4 separate regions of the Homo sapiens genome follow, and regions 1, 2 and 4 are each linked to region 3. Evidence: promoter capture Hi-C in 16 types of primary human blood cells and fetal thymus (Javierre and others, 2016). All regions are on one chromosome and are shown on one strand. The core of a region is centred on a gene start or on the middle of the fragment in contact, and the rest is flanking DNA. Distances in the headings are between cores, read along the strand shown.

Evidence for each region. The method cuts DNA at HindIII sites, captures the fragments that hold promoters and counts their contacts. A CHiCAGO score of 5 or more calls a contact.
Region 1: a contact is called between a fragment that was not itself captured here and the fragment with the promoter of SRP19 in region 3, in 1 of 17 cell types (naive B cells). The highest score is 6.0, in naive B cells.
Region 2: a contact is called between a fragment that was not itself captured here and the fragment with the promoter of SRP19 in region 3, in 1 of 17 cell types (fetal thymus). The highest score is 5.8, in fetal thymus.
Region 4: a contact is called between a fragment that was not itself captured here and the fragment with the promoter of SRP19 in region 3, in 3 of 17 cell types (fetal thymus, naive B cells and total B cells). The highest score is 11.2, in fetal thymus.

What each region holds. Positions count from the first base shown.
Region 1 is chr5:111,519,959-111,522,684 of GRCh38, reverse strand. The region is part of intron 1 of STARD4-AS1 (STARD4 antisense RNA 1); the gene reads right to left. The region is part of intron 2 of LOC105369177 (a long non-coding RNA gene); the gene reads right to left. Among named protein-coding and RNA genes, the nearest start is that of STARD4, 8.8 kb to the right of the region's middle. The HindIII fragment of the contact is 2,524 bases long and covers 94-2,617 here.
Region 2 is chr5:111,740,054-111,743,050 of GRCh38, reverse strand. The region is part of intron 2 of NREP (neuronal regeneration related protein); the gene reads left to right. Among named protein-coding and RNA genes, the nearest start is that of NREP, 16 kb to the left of the region's middle. The HindIII fragment of the contact is 1,551 bases long and covers 787-2,337 here.
Region 3 is chr5:112,859,824-112,862,663 of GRCh38, reverse strand. It overlaps SRP19 (signal recognition particle 19), which reads right to left and starts at 1,377. Exons shown (of 5, transcript NM_003135.3): 1 at 1,247-1,377; 2 at 81-156. The coding sequence starts at 1,287. RefSeq lists enhancers at 1,080-1,379, 1,480-1,559, 1,318-1,612. The HindIII fragment of the contact is 2,166 bases long and covers 1-1,528 here.
Region 4 is chr5:111,756,530-111,759,229 of GRCh38, reverse strand. It overlaps NREP (neuronal regeneration related protein), which reads left to right and starts at 2,036. Exons shown (of 4, transcript NM_004772.4): 1 at 2,036-2,094. RefSeq lists silencers at 906-1,265, 1,286-1,685 and an enhancer at 2,279-2,700. The HindIII fragment of the contact is 2,166 bases long and covers 293-2,458 here.

The DNA.
Region 1 (2,726 bases), core at 106-2,605, 1.3 Mb after region 3:
GGAGAATGTCATGTGAAGATGAAAGCAGATGTCGGGGTAATGTGACCGACAAGTTAAGGAATGCCAAAGGTTGCCAGCAAACCACCAGAAGCTTGGGGGAGGCATGAAACAGACTCTCTTATAGCCATCAGAAGGAGCTAGCCTTGCAGACACCTTGATCTTAGACTTCTAACCTCTATAACTTTGAGATAATAAATTTCTCCTGTTTAAAGCACCCAGTTTTTCGTATTTTGCTATGGCAACCCTAGCAAGCTAATATAGGCTTGTATTCATAATGCCCTAAAATCAGGAACTTCAATGGTAGGGCAACATGCTTTATTTGACCTATATTCATTGTGTACCCAAAATGCTTTGGAGATATGCTTGTAAATTGTTGGAGTCACAGTGCTCCTTCAGAGCACCCTCATTATTGCTTCAGTGTGGAAGTGCAGACAATTGACTTTTTCAACACTGTGTAGAGGCACCAAATTATCAGACTCATAAATCTTTTAGATTCTTGACCACAGGTTGAAATTCCCTGCCTCAGGTTTAAATTCTCTGTCCTTTCCTTAGCAGAGATCTATATTCCCTTTATTGTCCTTGAAGCCTGGCTAGATCTAGATATAGTTCAACTCTCTCTTGCAAAACGTTGCTGAAAGTAGCAGAAGCAACCAATTGACATCAATTGAATTTTTCCAGTGATCTAGCCTATAGCTACAGACTTGATAAGCATGTAATCGCCTTTCCAAGTTAGCTTAGGCAGGAATTTGTTCAATACCCTGCCACTGAATAACTATGGTCTCTAGTTTTCCAGACTGCTATGCTTGTTCTTACCATCTACTGCCTGGACTGCTAAGACAATGAAATGTGCATTAATATATTTTAGGGCAGCACCCTACTTCTAAATTCTCAGTTTTGTGTTGTTCAGTGTTCATTTGTAGAGAACAGAATCCAGTCTAGCTAGTTTAATCAGAAAAGGATTTAGTACAGGTTTTGTTATGGCTTAGAGAGTTGGCTGGAGGGCTAAAGAAACACTCCAAGAATGCTTTGAGAACAATACAACAGAGTTGGGCCACCAATGCAGGTGTTCTTATAGATACTGGAAAACTGCCATGATCACAACTCAATTTTGAGTCAGGACAGGGGATGGGGACAGAGAGACCCAGAGTGGAACTGCGGAAGAAATAGAAGCATGACTTCTACCTTGCACATCCCTCATGTGCGCATCTGATGAGCAGAATCTAAGTCAATCCAGAGCTGTATCTGTAAGAGTATCTGGACAATGTCTGTCATTCTGGACAGTAATGTCCAGAATCAAGGGTTCTATTTCCATGAGACAAAGGGGAAAGGAGATATTGAAGAACAAGTGGTCAGATTGTGAATGTAAATATTTGAAGTTTGTTTTGGCACAGAGTGGGCCCTTAACAATTGACAGACTTATGGAAGTATAAGACACGTGTCCTCCTTAGGAGAAAAAAATCAGAAATATAAGATCAGGTATGTAAAAGAAATCTATGTCACAATCGGAAATACAAGATCAGATACAAAGAACTCAATCACTTTGACCTTTTGCTCATTTTGGTGGAACACAACGTCCTCTGAGCTAGAATATTTGCAAATGTAACCTTATGTTTAACAAAGTTCATTCTCTGGAGCAACTGACTTTATAAAATAAAAATGCTGGCCCAATTGAATTCTCTTATACCTTGTTCTTTCTCAAGTGGTTTCACCATCCCATGCTTTCTAATACCCTTGATCCAAACAGATAAGAGCTCTCAGATGTATACCAAGCCTGGTTTTATCTGTTTAAATTTAAATCCTAAATCTAGATTTGTAAAATATATTTTAGAGCAGAGGTAAGCAACGTTTTTCTAGAAAGGGTCAGGTAGCAGTATTTTCAGCTTTGCAGGTCATACAGTGTCTGTTGCAGTTTCTCAGCCATGACATTGTAGCATAAAAGCTGTCATAGAGAGTGCGTGTGTGGATAAGTGTACTTACATCCCCAAAACACTCTTTACAACAAAGGTTGGGGGTGCTAATTTGGCACATAGACTGTGGTGTGCTTGCATGAAATAAATTTTAAAAAACCTCATCAGAGGTACCTTGCTGATCTCTTAAAAAGTGGACTCCAGTTGGGTCTTTTTCTTCCCTGCTATGGAGTCCATTCTTTCAAACACTGTACTTAGTTTAGCTCTGGTATTTGAAACAACTTTCTTCTGCTCGGTTTCACTTTAAAATCACATATCAATGTTCTTTGGACCATTTGGGAACTGAAACACAACATGAAATTTTGGAAACTTAGATAACCCCATCTTCATAATGGAGACATCAAGTTGCTACTAACTGTCTCAGATACACATGAAGCAGCCCAGTGTTTTTCTGTCAGCCTCAACTGTGGGCTGGATTCATCCATTGGCTTCTGACATTCTTTTCAATACCATGAGAACCTGTGAACTCACATGGCCTCTCACATCCAATTGGAAGTCCCAGGTAGCCCTAGTCTAGTTTATCCTATTGCTGCCCTGTCCTGACAGATTCTGTACTGAGAGGGAGAATAGAATAGTGAATAAGAGTACAGGAATCACACCTGACTTCTGCCACTCATTTGCTGTATGAACTTAAGGTAAGTACTTAAGCTTTCTAAGCTTTAATTTCCTAAGATGCAAGATAGGGATCATGATAGTGCCTACTTAGAGCAATGCCTGGACTATATATCAAGCACGTGATACATGTTATCTGTAATGGAG
Region 2 (2,997 bases), core at 313-2,812, 1.1 Mb after region 3:
ACTTTGTTTTCTCTTCATTGCTGAAAAGAAAAATTGCCCATTAAAAGTCAAGATTTGAAGTGCTGAACTTAATTCCTTGAGTCCAGTCCACAGTTTGGCTCCGATTACTGTACCAGGCTGACCTCCAGTCCAAGGGAGGGTGCCTTGGCAGAAATCTGAGAATTCCTCGATCAGTGACTCCCTTTTTTGGATTTATGGAGTCTTTAGGTGGATTGCTTTGTGCTAAATGTGCTCTTATTGGAAAGGAATGGGGCTGGAATGAGAGGAACACGATGTTGCACAACGTAAATGTTTGCAGCTGACCTCCGTGTTCACTATGCTTGAATTAGCTGGCTGTTGCTGCACCTGGCCTTGAACCATGTACCATCAAAGCCCAGAAAACTCACGTAATGAATGGTTTTAAGTCGTGGTGAAAAAGAAAAGTCGGGTAATTCTGTTAACCTTTTGTGGCTGGCTCCTGACCTGATTTCTTGCCCCCCTTGAAAGTCTTTGCTATTATTCTTAGAAATGAAATTTTAAAACACTCAGCAGCCAAACAAGCAGAATATTACATTGTGGAACAGAGTGACTGTGAAAGCTCTTTGTGCTGACGATTAATTTCACATGTAAACACTTTCATTTTGTTGCCAGCAAGGAGATTTCCTTTTCCTTTCTGTGCCTAGTTAAAGTCTAGAAATAAAATTCCACAGCTGTCAGGTTCCCACATATTCATCAGTGGCCTCTCAAGATGGCTTCACGATGAGCAGAGTGAATTTAGAGGATTCCACTATTAAAGTCTGCAAAGCTTGTTTCAGACACCCCAACTCATAAGATCAAGAATTGTAAATCTTTTGCCTTCCTGACATGTAATGTTGGACAGTAACATCATCTGTGGCATAATATTAATAAAATATGAACGCTTTCTGTGCCCGTAGTGGGAATACACACCCGAAGCGAAGCTAATGCCAATGGGTTTAACCAATTAGTGAGCCATCATTGTCTTCCTTATTGAAACACAGTTGTCTCCCCCAACCTCTATTTGTACATGTTAAGGACTTACCAGGCAATGAAACTCAAGGAGTGTCAGCAGGTGCCACAAAGGCCTTCCTTTCCTTTCTAGCAGGAGGGCATTTATGAGTCTAGAGTGCAGTAGTTGGGTGTTCATAATGCATACTCTGTAATTACCCATTGTTACCACAGCCAGCTCCAGTGTGTGTGTGTGTGTGTGTGTGTGTGTGTGTGTGTGTATGTGTGTGTTTAAATTAGGTCAGTGCATGTTTCGTTTAGCCCCCAAGCCAGAATGCTTGCCAACCTAAGCCCCAGCACTTTTATTCTGCTTTCCAGAATGTGCAGAGGTTACGTACATCATCTGAATGGCCCAGTGTTCTGCAGGCTTACCTTTTTGTCTTCCAGTGGCAACGTGTTTTCCCCACTGTGTGCTTCTTCTCCAAGCAGCATTCACAAGGTTAGGCAGATCTCTAAGACTACGTCTCTAGAGAGACAGCACAGTGCATCATCTTTTGGCACCATCTAATCTTTGATGTAATGTTGTTCAGAGAAAATGATCCTTGTAGCTCATTTATGGTTTCAGTTTACATTTGGCCCTCTCATATGACCAGTAACACCTGGGAACAGAGTGGCTTTTGAGGGAGATTCTTTATAGCACCACCTCAAAGGGTTTTTGCAGAAAGGAAGTGTATGTATATGCGCATGAATTCTCCTTGAATTACAGTACTAGGTTTCACAACCTCCTGGCTAGTTAGGCAGAATAAAACATGTACACATGCAGACACATACTATTTAATTGGCAGAAAGATTATGAAATATACCCCTTTGCTGCAGAAAGAATTGATTATACAGGTTGGACCCGTGCTGCCCTAGTCGGCTTTCCTAATTGCAGGAGACAGATACGCATACCCATCCTGTTAAGTTATAAAGGACCCGTGTGTGCATTCTTTAACCCTATAGGACCCCATCAGGGATAAAGAATAACATTACAGTTATGGTCGTTAACAACCAAACCATGCAACATATCTTCATGGCAGATTTCTGAAAATGTATGTTAACTAATGAAGTAAGCAGTATTTATGTGTGTGGTGTATTTAGCCTCTGCAAAAAGATATAATCCTGCCTTTAAGTATCATTCTCATAGAACAGTCTCCCCAAAGAAATATTGATAAAGACAGTAAATGAACAGAGGAAAATACAAATTTAGAAACAGGTAATAAGTAGATATGATTCAAATTTTACCTGCAATGTAGTAGAAGTGATAGGAAACATGTCCGAGAACTTTTAGATTGATTCTGTATTTGGACCATGCCATTGAAAAATAAATAGCAAATTTTGAAATGAAAAGCTTAAAAAGTGTTTGAAAAATAATTTAAGCAATAATCTAGTTTGCATATTTTTTAGGACCTTGGGGGACTGGTCTCTGAATTTTCCCACATTTCATTTTTCTCATTTGGAGCACTAGTTGTCAGCTATTAATAATAGTTTATACTAAGCAATAATTACCGGTGAGCTAATTACTTTATAGACTTTAAAAATGCAGTTATTTTTCATGATGCACTGTCCAAAGAGTAAAACAAGCCTCAAAAGAAAGGAAAGAAGGAAGGGAGGGACAAAACCCTGAGTATTTTATTTCCAATTTGTATGCTGTGATAGAATATTGAAACTTACCCAACTATCAATACATTCAAGAGAATCAGTACGAAATAGCACATTTTCACTATAAGTAATATTTAAATATATAGTGGGTTTAAGTATATTAATTATACCCAAAAGCATAAAATTGGTATTTCCTAAGAATTGATCAAGGATATCTAAATACAAGTCATGATTAGTATATTTTAAACCAGTGTGGTTCTTTATGACGTTCTGTTGTTTTTCAACCTAATTGTCAGTGAGATAAATATAGCATCATAGAAAAAGATGCATTAACCAATATATTCAGTGACAAGTATAAACACTCAAACTTCCCCAGAATTCAAACAAAACTGTTGCATATTCTCCAAATTA
Region 3 (2,840 bases), core at 128-2,627:
GCTCTAACAAGATTACGTGGCCCGACCAGGATGACACCCCCCATTCCCTCGAGGATCAAGGTGCCAGCCATCTTGCTTACCTTACTTATGGGGATTCGCCTTCCCTCTGCGATGGTCTTCTTATTATTTAAATAAGCAGGATAGATACAAATAAACCTGCCATAGACAATAGCATAAGTGGTATCACTAGAGCAGTAAGAGGCAGGAGAAAAGGGTCGGGTGGCAGGGAACCAAAGGCCAATTCATGCTGCCTAGATATCAGATGGGTACTCCCTTTTCAACCCCTCCTTTTTCTGCGTGGCAGTTGAAAAATCAAAGTACCTCGGAGTGGTCCCCTCGAGCAACTAATCAGACTGGCCGCGGGCCTACTCCTCTTTCTGATTGATCCCCCTCCCTCAACCAATCAGACTGGCACAGGTCAATGGGAAACGTCTAGAGGGTATTTAAACCCTAGAAAATTCTGTAACCAACAGCTCTTGGGTAGCTTGCTGGAGCCGGCTCCCACCCTGTGGAGTGTACTTTTGTTTAAAATAAATCTGCTTTCGCTGCCTTGCTTTGTGTGTTTTGTTCAATTCCTTATTCAAAACGCCAAGAACCTGGACAACTACACTCAACAGATAACAAGTATTTTCAAAAATACATTCTTTCGGTCCGTGGTAGTCGTCATCATTGCTGGTACACCTATGCTATTATTTGCTTAATGTTATTTCTTTAAATTACCTCACTTTAACTTATTTAAAAATAAACTTTATCCACTACCTTGGATGGAAAAAAACCACAGGAATAGAAACAAAACGACTTGGGTAACTGTTACATTAGACAGAGCAGCCCGTCAAAAGTTCCTGAGAATGGGCCCGCCCTCTTATATAAAGTGTCCGAGGTATTAAAAACCTTAAAATTTCACAAATGAGCCTTTCTGAACGCAACAATACTTAAAAAGAACACATTTCTCACACTGTGATTATATTACTTGATATCATGTCCACGTAGCACCCAAAATCCTTGTCTCGCGTACAGATAAACACTAGGCTACCTATGGTCGGAATTTCAGGAGCCCTGAGAAGAGCCTGGTGGCTGCTGCAGGATTCAGAAAAACGAGCTGCCAGGGAGAGGCGCGGGGCCCGTACAGAGCGAGTTGGATCAGCTAGGCCATTCTGGAGGCCGCGGAGCGGAGAAGCGCGGTGTAGCACCTGCAGCACCACAGCAAGCCCCTTCCTTTCGGAGGACCCACCGCCTCAGAACCCACCTGTCCTGGTCGGCCGGGGACCGCGCGGCAGCGCAAGCCATCTTCACAAGAGTCTCAACAACCCAGGAGCCGCAGGGAGAAACCCGGCAGAAACCCGGGAGGAACCCGGCTCTGAGTTTCCGAGACAGCCCGCTTTTCCGCCGGAAGTCCTGCCCAAGAAATGGTTCCGCGTCCGCGATTTCTCATCGCCTGTTTGTTCCGGCACCTGTCGCTCGGCGCCAGGATCTCTAGTCTCTGACGTGGCATGAAGACTTCCCTTCTCGCGAGAGAATCATGAAAGCTTCTCATTCCTTTCCCAAGCCGGGAAGACCATGTGGGGCGCATGCACCGCCACTAAAAAGGGTTTAACTTCGACCCTCCCTCGTTTCCAGTTTCTCAGCGAGTATGGGTGGTACTAGCTACTCTCTGTTAAGGGGCGAAGACTGTGCCACGAGGGGAATCTGTGTGGTTCAGGATGCAAATATATGTTAGACAGGGAAGGAAATACTCCTTACGTTTAATTTTTCTCCGTTCCTGGGCTCTAGAGCTTGCTTTCAGTTTGGCAAAATGGATTTTTGTAGTGGTAGAACTAGCAAAGTTATAGACGTTGTGTTTCAGTGTGCTCTGCGTTAGAAACTTAGCTATTCACCTTTTAGGCCGGGTGCGGTGGCTCACGCCTGTATCCCAGCACTTTGGGAGACTGAGGCAGGTGGATCATGAGGTCAGGAGTTGGAGAGCAGCCTGGCCAACATGCTGAAACCCCGTCTGTACTAAAAATACAAAAATTAGCCGAGTGTGGTGGCACACGCCTGTAATCCCAGCTACTCGGAGGCTGAGACAGGAGAATCACTTGAACCCAGGAGGTGGAGGTTGCAGTGAGCTGAGATCACACCACTGCACTCCAGCCTGCGTAACAGAGCAAGACTCCGTCTAGGAAAAACGAAACAAAACTATTCACCTTTTAAAACTTCTGAAGGATACCATGTGCCATCACTACAGGCATACTTCATTATTGCACTTCACTTGCTGCTGCGAGTAGATACTGCCTTTTTACAAATGGAAGGTTTTTGGCAAATCCGCCTGAAAGAAGTTGCTTGGTGCCATTTTTCCAGCAGCGTATACTTTGTGTCACATTTGGTAATTTTTGCAATATTTCAAACCTTTTCATTATTTCTGTTATGGTGATCGGTGATCAGTGATGTTTGCTGTTACTATTGTAATAGTTTTAAGGCCGGGTGCGGTGGCTCACGCCTGTAATCCCAGCACTTTGGGAGGCCGAGGCAGGTGGATCACGAGGTCAGGAGATAGACACCATCTTGGCCAACATGGTGAAACCCCATCTCTACTAAAATATAAAAAATAAGCCAGGCATGGTGGCACAGGCCTTTAGTCCCAGCTACTCGGGAGGCAGGGGAATCTCTTGAACCCAGGAGGTGGAGGTTGCAGTGAGCCAAGATCACACCACTGCACTCCAGCCTGGCGACAGTGCAAGACTCCGTCTCAAATAATAATAATGTTTTGGGGCACCATGAACCATGCCCAGATAAGATGGGGAACTTAATGGATAAATGTTGTGTATGTTTTAACTGTTCGACCAACTGGCCATTTCCCATCT
Region 4 (2,700 bases), core at 126-2,625, 1.1 Mb after region 3:
CCCAGCCTGACCCTGAGGTGAATGCCAAAGATCTCAATGTTGAGGTGCCCTTGAGCAGCGTGTTGGGGTTCCAGACTTGCAGATCAGCCCCCAGGCGTCTCCCCTCTCCCACCACCCAGCCTATGCCTTACACCTTCCTTCCAGTACTTCCCTGGCTGGTAAACTGGCCTGAAAGGGTCAAGGGAATTTGTTGAGTTTTATATTTCTTCCCTTTGTTCCTAGCTATGGCTGCCAAATCATCTTATTTTTGCAGGAAAATTACTGTGATGTTTTAGATTAATTCAGAGAAGCTTTCAGTGGGCTCCTTAAACATCATACCCAGTGCAGTCTAACAGGCATTTGTTGTGGCAATGGCTTTGTAGTTTTAAAGGTGACCTATAGTCCCAGCAACAAGCATACAGAGAACTCAGTGCATTCTTTTAGAATTGTGAGTGTAAAGTATTGCTTTTTAAGGTTTGCTATTGCTGTACCCAGTATGTTAAATCTAAAACATCAGACATTCTGTAAACACGTTTAAAAATTGAGTTTTGTAAATTTGCCTTATTTTCTTTGTTACAATGGAAAACATTGCTTTCAGTGATTAGGGGAAAAAGTGGATGGCAAATTTAGAAGACACTATGATCCTTTATATCTTTTTTTCTTGGAAAGGCAATTTAATTAGGAAATAATCTTCTCCTGTGACATCTGAGAGTTACCATAAAATGATATCCTGCTTTATTGGCAACAGAACCAGTTTATTTGAGTTTGTTGCAAAATTTTGAGCTATTACATTACTATGAAAAGATAGATTTTAAATAAGAACGACGAGTTTACAAAAATCAGAAATGGCAAAGCACTTTATTTTTTAAAGCAATCCTCGATTTTAAAAAGTACAATTTCAGACGGGCAGGCAGTGGGGGAGCGTATAGGGAAGGAGAAGGAAGCACCAGGGGAGTATGTCTTGGGCCGATCACGCCAGGCCGCAGCTCTGGCTGGTTGTGCGCGTGTGACTGTGTGCACGTGTGTGTGTGCACGCGCAGCCACAGGACCTCTGGGCCCGGCCTTCAGGGGCGCTCCCCGCCCCGGGCTTCCCCGCGGAAGGGAGTGGGGCGCGCGTACCCAGCTGAGGGGCAGGGTCCGACCCGAGGCCGTGTGCAAATGCATCCTTCGCGGACTCTTTGTGTGTCTGAGCGCGGCTCCGCGCCGCCGCAGGCACCATTTTCTGCTTCGCTCAGGACAGGCACATAAAAGGAAGGCGGCTGCCGCCCGTCGCCGTCCTCTTTTCCTCAGATGCCCTCTGCTGCAGGTTTATTATTACAGTACGGGCCGCGCCGCCTCTCCCCACGGCCCTGGCGGGCCGCCGGGCTGTGCAGCACCCTGGCCGCCTTCACGCTTGGCGCGCCCCCAAACCGCCTCCTCCACCTCCTTATTTGTCTGAAAAGCAACCGCACGTCGAGGCGGAGAGGCTGGCCGGGGGCGGGGAGGAAGGCCGGGGATTTGCGCGCGCCGTGCTCCCGGGGCGGGGCCGGGGCGCAGAGCTGCGGGTCCGCTTTGTCTCCCCGGGGCGCCGCGCGGTGCAGTGGGGACGGCGCGGCGAGCGGGGCGCCCGGGGCGCGGGTGCGGGGTGTCGGGGCGCGCGCGCCTGTTGGCCGCTCGCCGACGGGGCCCAGAGCCGCCGATTCCTGCCGAGTAAGCAGTCTGGCTCCTAGGCGGCTGCACAGTGGCAGCAAGGCTGGGGCGCTGGCTCCGCGCCAGCTCCATCAGAATTAGCTCATTGTTCACTAGCACCCTAGCGGGAGAGAGAGGGAAAGGGAGAGAGAGAGACTCTTAGAGAAAGAGAGAGACACACACACTCTTGGAGAGAGAGCGCGAGGCAGGGAGATGATCTCCTCCTCCTTTTTCCAAGGCTGCACTTCTTGGAAGTGAAGCCGGTTTGGGTTTTGTTTCCCTTCCCCCTCCTCCCTCCTCTTCCTCCACCCCTTTCCCCTCCCCCTCCCTCCCCCAATCCCCCCTCCCCCCCCAATCTGTCTTTCTAGCATGTTGCCCTTTTTCAACCACATTTGTGTTTCAGGTGTAGAGAGGAGAGAGAGTGAACAGGGAGCGGGGCTTTTGTCTGTAAGTATATGCCATTCCTATCCCCGGCTGGGAGCGCTGGTTTCTCTTTTGTGTCGATTCCTTGCCGTTGCTCTTAGCTGGACCCTTCAACCCTGCAGAGTTCATGCTTCTTCCCTCTAAATTTTAAAGAGCTGAAGCGTGTACCTTGGAGAAATTCTGGCATTTTGGTTGTGCTGCATTCAGGCTGGAATTTAACTTGGGTTTTTTCTAAAATGCACAAGTTCGGAGGGAGAAATGAATTCTTTTGGGAAGGGGTGGGGTTTTGTGCTTGTTGGTGTGGTTAATTTTGTTCTTCTTGCTCCTAAAGCCTTGTTAGAAACTGTTGTGTTTCTTTGCATTAAATGCACTTTGGTGCATGCAAGCTTTTCCTCCCTTTTTATAAAATGAATTTGTGTCCCTCCGCCCTTACACTTGATTACTCTTTCAATGCTGCTGCTTCCGAGGGTCTTCTTAGGCATTCGATCTTGCAGCACTTTTTTCTGCATTTTCTTATAAAGCAGTTGAACTTTGGCGGGGAGGGCCTTAAAAATAAATGACTGTTTTTTTCTTGGTGATTATAATAATCTGATGTGCATTTATGTGTATCTATAATAACATTATAGGAAA